3 separate regions of the Homo sapiens genome follow, and regions 1 and 3 are each linked to region 2. The links are contacts of gene promoters, found by promoter capture Hi-C in human tissues and cell types (Jung and others, 2019). All regions are on one chromosome and are shown on one strand. The core of a region is centred on a gene start or on the middle of the fragment in contact, and the rest is flanking DNA. Distances in the headings are between cores, read along the strand shown. Region 1 has its middle 42 kb from the start of CELF4. Region 2 holds the start of CELF4 (CUGBP Elav-like family member 4). Region 3 overlaps CELF4 (CUGBP Elav-like family member 4).

Region 1 (2,700 bases), core at 100-2,599, 42 kb before region 2:
CATATATATATATAATTTATCCTGAGGATACAGCTCTTAATTTAAAGAACTAACCCCCCAGGGGTAGGATTACTTCTAGCCCCCTTCCGGTACCATCAGGGAGGAATGTGGGGACTTCATCCTGGTGACCATCAAAGTGCCAGGTCCGTATTCCCTACCCAAGAGCTGTCTGTGAACCGGCCAGCTATAGGGACCAAGGGCAAAAGTAACTTCCATTTGCCTTGGACCCCACACTTGCACCCAAGCGTACCCCTGCGCATGCCCAGCCTGAGGTCCCCGACACTCCAGGCCTTGGTGGGGTTGGGGCAGAGGCTATAGGACCCACAGCATCAGCACTCTCCTGCAGCAGGACTCGTTATTAATAAACACGCTGCTTCGAGCATTTGCTCACGATTGTTTGATATTTCAGTTTTCAGTAATTTTCTCAGTTAATAATTTATTAAATGGATTATTTGTCATTTCAATTTATTAAAAATTGATAAAGGGCTCATTTCTTTTTTCCCAAGCTAGGACACACGGAGAGATACACCAGCCAGAGTACAAATTAAAGACTCTCTACTCCTTTCCCTTCCCCTGTCCCTGTGAAGTCACCTGCAACCAGTGAGCACCCTCAGGTCCCTTTCCTGGTGTCTTTGCACACAGAGCCCTGCTCCCTAGTCAAATGATGAAGCAAGAGAGGCTCGCCCTCACCCCCGCCCAGCCACCTTCACCACCCAGCCCTGAATCACGGCTTTTTATCACAGCCAGACCCCCAACCACACCAAAAGCAGTGCACATCCCTTGCACTGCCCTGCTCAGCAAAGAGAACACCCTCCCAGCTCCCTCAGCCTCTGAAGACTGCACAGTCCCCATCTGAGGCGGAGCTGTATTTTAAAGAACGAGCTTGGGATCGTAGTGGGATTTCAGGCACTGTGATAAAAGTAGGAGGGAGGTGTTTACTGCAGCAACAGAACTTGCAGGGGCGCTCGAAATGGCTACCTGCTCTCTCCGTGGGCAACACCAGCCCTGTCAGCCAGCTCTCTTGTCTCTGGTGCTCTCAACAATTTCACTGTTTCTATATTCTGATCCTGGCTCTGCCTGTGTTTACAGAACAAGCATATGAAGACACTTGAGAAAAAAAAAAAAAAAAGTAAGCAGGCTGTCTCCTGATCCTTCTCCTGTTCTTCTTCCTCCCCATCCTCCTCCCTGTCCCTCCACCGTCCTCTGGCTCTGATTTGCTCCTTCTCTCTCACTCTGGACTCTCTTACCATCTTCACCACCCTTCCTGCTTCTCTCCCGTCTCCCTCTTTCCTTGGTACTTGCTCTATACTCTTTCTGCCTGACTTTCTTCTCTTTGGGCCCTTCCTCTCCCAAGGACTTGAGGTCCACAGGCTGGTAAATACCTAGATTCTCCTAGCCATGGGTGTGGCCTTTGAGGGCCTCCTTAGAGCCACAGTGGAGCTTCATCCCCAGGGCCCTGGAGTCACAGCTGTTCTGTGGTTGTTTCTAGGCTGAGAGTGAAACCCCAGGACCATCCCATGTGCCCAGGTTCCAACCTCAGGTCTCAGAGTGCCCACCCAATTGCAGCAAAAATTAAAAAAGACAGTGCTTTCTGGATCCAAGATAGTGCCAGGGAAAGTCACCCCCTCCAACTCCAAGCACTGCTAAGGGTAGGGAAAAGAGAATAAACCAGACGAACAGGTGGGAGCCTGGAGAAGCAGCAGCCCCTCAGAGTCACTTTAGCCAAGAGCATCGGTCACCACTTTGCCATTTCTGTCTGCCTTCGCAGGCTCCTTGAGACCCCATGTATCACTGTTTTCCAGAGCACTTTTCCCCAAGATGAGTTTAATGGCCTTATAAAAGTCACATTGTGCACAAATTGGGAAGTTTCTGAAGCACCGCGCCGGCTCTCATGCATATACGCTTGCGAAGTTCCCGCAGCCGGGCTGGAAAGGCAATTCAAGGCACAAAAACATCCTTGGGTAAATTACTTCCTATTAGTATGTCACATATTTCTTAGATACGACTGTAGTTCCAGGAGGTGACAGCAGCAGTTGACAATAAAACTTTGCACTCTTTTTTATTTATATTTTCTCTGCCTTTCTATTTGTTTTATTTTTTCTTTCCCCTCAAAGTTACATAACATCGCAAGGAGCTCATCATCTCATTGCTCCTAAGGAAACAATGCCCCCTGAGGCTTTTCTTGACACGCTGTATGTGGAGTTGTCCAAGAAGACATCTAACTTCAAGTACCATAGAGGAACCTCAAAATAGGCATCACAGCATTGTTTAGACAGGAGGCCTGTGACTGGGGCTCCCTTAGTCCCCAGTAGCATTCTTCCCCAATTTCTCCCCTGACCACAGCATTCTGCCTAGTGAGGAGTAATACAGAATTCTCCACTGAAGGCTGGGCGTGGTGGCTCATGCCTGTAATCCCAGCACTTTGGGAGGCTGAAGTGGGTGGATCACTTGAGGTCAGGAGTTTGAGACCAGCCTGGCCAACATGGCAAAACCCTGTCTCTGCTAAAAAAAAAATACAAAAAAATTAGCCAGGCATGGTGTTGCACACCTGTAATCCCAGCTACTTGGGAAGCTGAGGCAGGAGAATAGCTTGAACCCAAGAGGCAGAGGTTGCAGTCAGCAGAGATCATGCCACTGCATGTCAGCCTGAGTGATGGAGTAAGACTCCATCTCAAAAAGAAAAAAAAAAAAAAGAATTAT
Region 2 (2,700 bases), core at 46-2,545:
CGCTGGCTCACCGGCCACCGCGCCCAGCGCCTTCCTCCCCCTCCGGCGGGCGAGCGGGCAGGGGCGCCCGACTCCTACCTTCCTCCCGCCAGCCACCGGGGGACCAGCCGCGCTCTCCGGGGCGGGGGAGGCCGCCCGGGACGGGGACCCCCACCTTCCGCCTTCGGAAGCGGGTTGGGGCGGGGGTCGGACCCCGAGTCTCTACTCCCCGTCCCTCTGCCCCCCGGCGCGGCCCGACAGCTCCCAGCCCCATCCTGGCAGGTGGCTTGGGTGGCGGTAGATGCCGGGCGGGAGGAAGATGTGGGGCTGCTCTGGCAGGTTGGGGGTGCGAGGAGGAAAAAAAAACAGAGAAAGACACACACAGAGAGACAGGGAGAGAGCGCGCGCGAGAGAGCTCTTGTCTATAGATTTATCCACATAATATATATTTATGTAGCTTTTTTTCTCTCGACACTGATGAATGCGCGCTCGGATCCCCGGGCGGACTCCCTCCAAGCCGGCTCGCTTTTCTAGTCTAAATAAATAAATAAAGCCAGATGGAAGAAAAAAGCGCCCATTCCACCTCCGCCGCCGCCCCGCCCGCCATCCCTGCCTTTGCTTCGCCCGCCTGGCGCCCTAATAGAGCATAGCTTGGTGGATAAAGCCCCCCTACATACCCACACGAAAATAAAAATCACTATTTTTAAAATACAAAAAGTTGCACCTGCTGCTATTACAAAAAGAACCCCCAAAAGGCAAAGAGAGGAGGCCGGCTGCCCGGCTCCTCACGGACACCCGCTCCCCGCGGCCGCCGGGCCCGGAATCTCAGCGCCTCCCGAAGAGCCATGCGCCTGGCGCTATTTATAGCCGGGGGCCGTCTCGGACTGTACCATCGCCACGGCGCGGGGCCGCCGACGGGGGAGGCGCGGTGGCCGCCGCCCCACGCCGCCCTGCCCCCGGCCGCCGCCCGCCGTGGCGCGGGCCCCCACAGCGCGCCCATTCCCGGCCCCCCGCGCCCTCCTCCGCGCGCGCACACTCGCCACCCCCACCCCTGGTCTGGCTGGGAACTTGAACCGGTCCAGCCTGTTTAAACGGAAAGGACAGAGATCCTGTCTGTTCAATGTAAAAAAAAAAAAAAAAAAAAAAAAAAGAAAAAAAGAAAAAAAAAATCAGATCAGACCGAGAGAGAGAGGAGAGAGGGAGAGAGAGAGGGAGAGAGAGAGGGAGAGAGAGAGGAGAGGGAGGGAGGGAGAGAGAGAGGGGGGAGAGCAGAGAGAGAGCGCGAGCGCGAGCGAGCGAGAGAAGAGGAGAAAGAGAGAGAGCAGAGAGCGAGCGGAGAGCGAGGTGTAGAGAAACCGAGGGGGAGAGAACCCGAGTGTGTGTATGCGTGTGCGTGTGTGAGCGCGAGCGAGCGAGAGAGAGGAGCGAGAGAGTGTGAGCGAGAAAGAATAAAAGGAAAGAAGATTTTCTCTATGTATATAAAGATGGCCACGTTAGCAAACGGACAGGCTGACAACGCAAGCCTCAGTACCAACGGGCTCGGCAGCAGCCCGGGCAGTGCCGGGCACATGAACGGATTAAGCCACAGCCCGGGGAACCCGTCGACCATTCCCATGAAGGACCACGATGCCATCAAGCTGTTCATTGGGCAGATCCCCCGCAACCTGGATGAGAAGGACCTCAAGCCCCTCTTCGAGGAGTTTGGCAAAATCTACGAGCTTACGGTTCTGAAGGACAGGTTCACAGGCATGCACAAAGGTGAGTACACCTTTCCCTCCCAACTTTGCCGGGGAGCAGGAGCGGGCTGGCGGGCCGACCGGCCGGCCGGCGACTGACGAGCGGCGGACTAAGCGAGAGGAAGCCTCGGGCGGGCGCGGTGGAGGGAGGCGCTCGGGCAGCGGAGACCAGAGCTGGGGTGCGTGGGGAGCTGTTCGCTGGGGCAAGACTGGGTTTTGGGCGAGGTGCTGATAGGAACGATGCCATGGAGAGAGCAGCGGGCGCCGATGAAGAGAAAGAGAGAGGGGATCGAGGAGACGGGGCTTGGATTTTTGGGTACAGCGACCTGAAAGATGGGGATGGGGAAGGCTGCACCGGTCGAGCCCAGGACGCTGAGCGGACGGACTCGCGGGCTCCTGGCCGGCCGAGGACCGAGGGTGCTGTCCATCGCCGTGGTGCTGAAAATACTAAAGGAGGTGGTCTCCTCATCCTTTGCTCCGGGCTAGAGTAGCAGGAGCGCAGCCGTCTAAAAGGGAGAGAGGTGACAAATTCAAAGAGAAATTTTTATTTAAATGTAACAGTAAACTCTCCCTGTCGAGCTGTGTGCCTCAATAATCTGATTGTGGTGTGAATGGTGGTGTGTGTTGGGGGTGGGGGGGTTGGATGTTTGAAGGAACCAGTGATAAAACCTAAGGCAAGAATTAGCAAGGAACCAGCCATCCCCTGGGTGGAGTGGGGGGTCTGGCAAGCCTGGATAGTCCCCTTCCCAGGAAAGCGGGGCTTTGGGAAAAAAATATGTGTGTGCGAGATTTGCATTTTGAAAGGTGTACCCTAATTTATCCCAAACTCACCATGCAGAGAGCTTTATAGTACATTATTTCTCCCTTGAAGCGATCATTGCCAGTGAGTGCTTGGGGGAGGGGGAGACAGAATAATCAAAGAATTAAAACACAGCAACTTTTTAGGAAAGTGGTCATGGGAATTGTCCGCAGCCTGCCTGTTTTC
Region 3 (2,764 bases), core at 69-2,568, 51 kb after region 2:
TACCCCAGGGCCAAGAAGGGAGCAGGGAGGAGGCCTGGTCTACCAGGGGGCAGGAAGGGATGTTGGGCTCTATGATTAGGATGATGAGAAGCCAGTAAATAATATTTTTTGCCAGAAAAAAGCAGTTTGCTATCTGAGACTGAAAAGGTCTAATACCCTAAACCCTCTGAATCCATCTACAGCCTCTCCACACCTTCACCAGACCCTCATCATCCACATTCATTCATTCATTCACTCACTCACTCACTCCACCAAAGTGCATCAAGTGCCTCCATGCACCCAGCCCAGTCTAAATGCTGGGATGCTACAATGAAGAAGGCAAGTCCTGCTTTCACCGGGATGAAGTACTCTCATCCAGCCTGGTCTCCTGCCTTTGCCCTCCACCCACTCCAGCCTTTCAGGATCTGGCCAATGTCCTCCAGCCCCTCTGCGAAGCTCCATCTGTCCTTCCCAGTCAGCACTTACTGGCTCTTCTTGGTGGAGAAATAAAAGAAGCAGGACACCATGCCCACACCCCCAGAGCTCCCCATGCCCCAGCTGGAGGGCAGCACCCTTCAGTTCACTGCTAAGGCACTGGATCCACCGCCACCCTTGATACCATCCCTCGGGTGGGTCTGTTCAGTGTCCCAGTCAAGCTGTGAGCTCCACGAGTAGGGAGGCCTGTCTCCCTCCAGCGTTACGGTCTTGATGCAACCTCCGCTAGTTAAGAAAGCAGAGTGTGACCATTGCTTTAGGCCTCTACTGGAGGATGGGCCAAGAAATGCCAGTTCCTACCACTTGTGTTCAGGAAGCCTAGGCCTGCCAAAGATAGAAGGGAGAAAGACCCTTGATAGGATGGGATCCTCAAGGAAAGCACTGGCAGAGGGTAGCCAGGCTGGGGAGAAGCTCGGGGTCAGACAACACTGCAGAGCAGCCAGGAGGGGAGAACTTGTTGCACCAGGGAGGGATGAAAAGCAAAAACAGAAAAGGGAATAAGGAAAGGCATTTAGGGAGGCAAGATGCAGTGTAATCTGAACTGCAAATCCCCCTCCTCCAGGCTCCTTAAGGCTTTTACTGTACTATAAAAACCACTGCCGAACAGCAAGCCTGCTTGATGACAAAGAGAGATAATTGGCTCTCATGCAGATTTAAGCCCAGAGTTATCAAATAATAATAGCACTCAGAAAGAGACACAGGCAAATGGGCCTGGAGAGCCCGCTTCTTCCAAAGGATGAGGATTTGTTAAAAGTATCTAAATTATGTTCCCGCAATGGAACAGGGAAATGGGGCATTTTTTTAAAAAAAGATTTTCTTTTAATGCTTGGATACATTTTTAAAAGTTCCTTTATAATTAGGGCTGTAATTTATATAATTTATTTTTAAAATATCCTTTTTTTAATTTCCACCCGGTCCAGTTAAAGTTGAACTGAAAAGCCCACAGTAAATGATTTTTTTAATAAACCCATTTAAAGGAGCCCCAACCTGAAGCAGAATAGATATGTGGATTTTCAAAGGAGAGGGGGAAAAATCATATATTGAAAAAATAAATTTCCTAACCCATTTTATACCCCAGATTTTATTATCACCGGAAGGTTTTTAAAATTCTAATTCCCTTTGCTTTTCTGAAGTTGTTTGTTTACCGCCCAGGCCTCCTTGGGCTTGGGACCGGGAGCTCAATTGGTTGGTTTCAGTCTCCTCCAATTCCTCGTGTGATTGTCTGTTCATGTGTCTGCTTTGCTCTTCAAGGGGGCTCTGAGCTCCCTGAGGTCAGATACCAGGCTCTCGGAAGAAACTCTTTTCCTTCTCATCAGCATCCAGCACAGAGCCATGCATGCAATAAGTGTTCAATAAGTGTTTGCTGGTGATGTGCCATACTATGAAGAAGTCCTAACCCATGATTTCCATGAAAGCCCTGGGCCAGAAAACAGTGTTCCTTTTGCAGGAAGCTTTGGTTCCCATTGTAATGCCCTCGTCCTAGGAGAGAGAGGGGAAGAGGGCCGTACTTTCAGCTGTTAGTCAAGGACCCCTCAGATGATGGGAGAAGTGGAGCAGATTACCTTGAACACCAGGGCCAGAGAGGATCAGAGCCTCTAGTTGTTTGAGATGGGTCAGGGTACAGGAAATGCAGAAAGAGGTACCAGGGACCCAGTGCTCTGCTGACCAGTAGACCAGAGAGATCTGTGTCTCCACATTTCTAGGGACTTGCCCTGAGCATCTGCGTTTGCTGGACTTGGTAGAGCCATCACCTCAGAAGTCACCATCCCACACCTCTGTCAGAAGGTATACACACACACACACACACACACACACACACACACACACACACGGCACCACACAGAAGGGAAGAGGGACAAAATTAGGGCCTCATGGACCCATCAGAGGACAACACAAGAGAGGTAGTTAGGACTGTAACTGCTGGAGCAAGACAAGGCATGCAGAAGTTCATGAACCCTTCAGGGAGGCTCCATAGAGGAGGGAGCACTGCGGATTGGCCTGAAAGTACAGGTTGGATAAAGATAAGCAGAAAGTGCTAGGGAGGGTATTCCAGGAGCTGGAACCAGGATGAGCATGGACAATCTGGTAGGAATGAGCAGGTGTGTCTCAGGAACAGTAAGAAGATGTTCTTGACAGAAGCTTAGTAGGTAGAGCTGGAAAGAGAAGGTTGGTGCAGACTAAAGAGGCCCTGGAGTGAGTGAAAGAATGGAGACATCAAATCCATTCCATAAGAATGGTCCACGCCCCTGCCCAGTAGCTCTCCATGCCTTTCTCTTTGGAAAGTAAAGCT

The links. The method cuts DNA at HindIII sites, captures the fragments that hold promoters and counts their contacts. A contact is called where the count stands out against the background at its distance.
Region 1: a fragment that was not itself captured here is called in contact with the fragment with the promoter of CELF4 in region 2 in 3 of the 25 tissues and cell types used here (neural progenitor cells, spleen and thymus).
Region 3: a contact is called between a fragment that was not itself captured here and the fragment with the promoter of CELF4 in region 2, in 2 of the 25 tissues and cell types used here (IMR-90 fibroblasts and pancreas).

What each region holds. Positions count from the first base shown.
Region 1 is chr18:37,606,645-37,609,344 of GRCh38, reverse strand. No RefSeq gene overlaps it. Among named protein-coding and RNA genes, the nearest start is that of CELF4, 42 kb to the right of the region's middle. The HindIII fragment of the contact is 5,513 bases long and covers 1-2,700 here.
Region 2 is chr18:37,564,393-37,567,092 of GRCh38, reverse strand. It overlaps CELF4 (CUGBP Elav-like family member 4), which reads left to right and starts at 1,295. Exons shown (of 13, transcript NM_020180.4): 1 at 1,295-1,737. The coding sequence starts at 1,452. It overlaps LOC124904288 (a long non-coding RNA gene), which reads right to left and starts at 816. Exons shown (of 2, transcript XR_007066345.1): 1 at 704-816; 2 at 405-514. RefSeq lists an enhancer at 1,248-1,751. The HindIII fragment of the contact is 29,207 bases long and covers 1-2,700 here.
Region 3 is chr18:37,513,483-37,516,246 of GRCh38, reverse strand. The region is part of intron 1 of CELF4 (CUGBP Elav-like family member 4); the gene reads left to right. Among named protein-coding and RNA genes, the nearest start is that of SNORA111, 48 kb to the right of the region's middle. The HindIII fragment of the contact is 4,893 bases long and covers 1-2,764 here.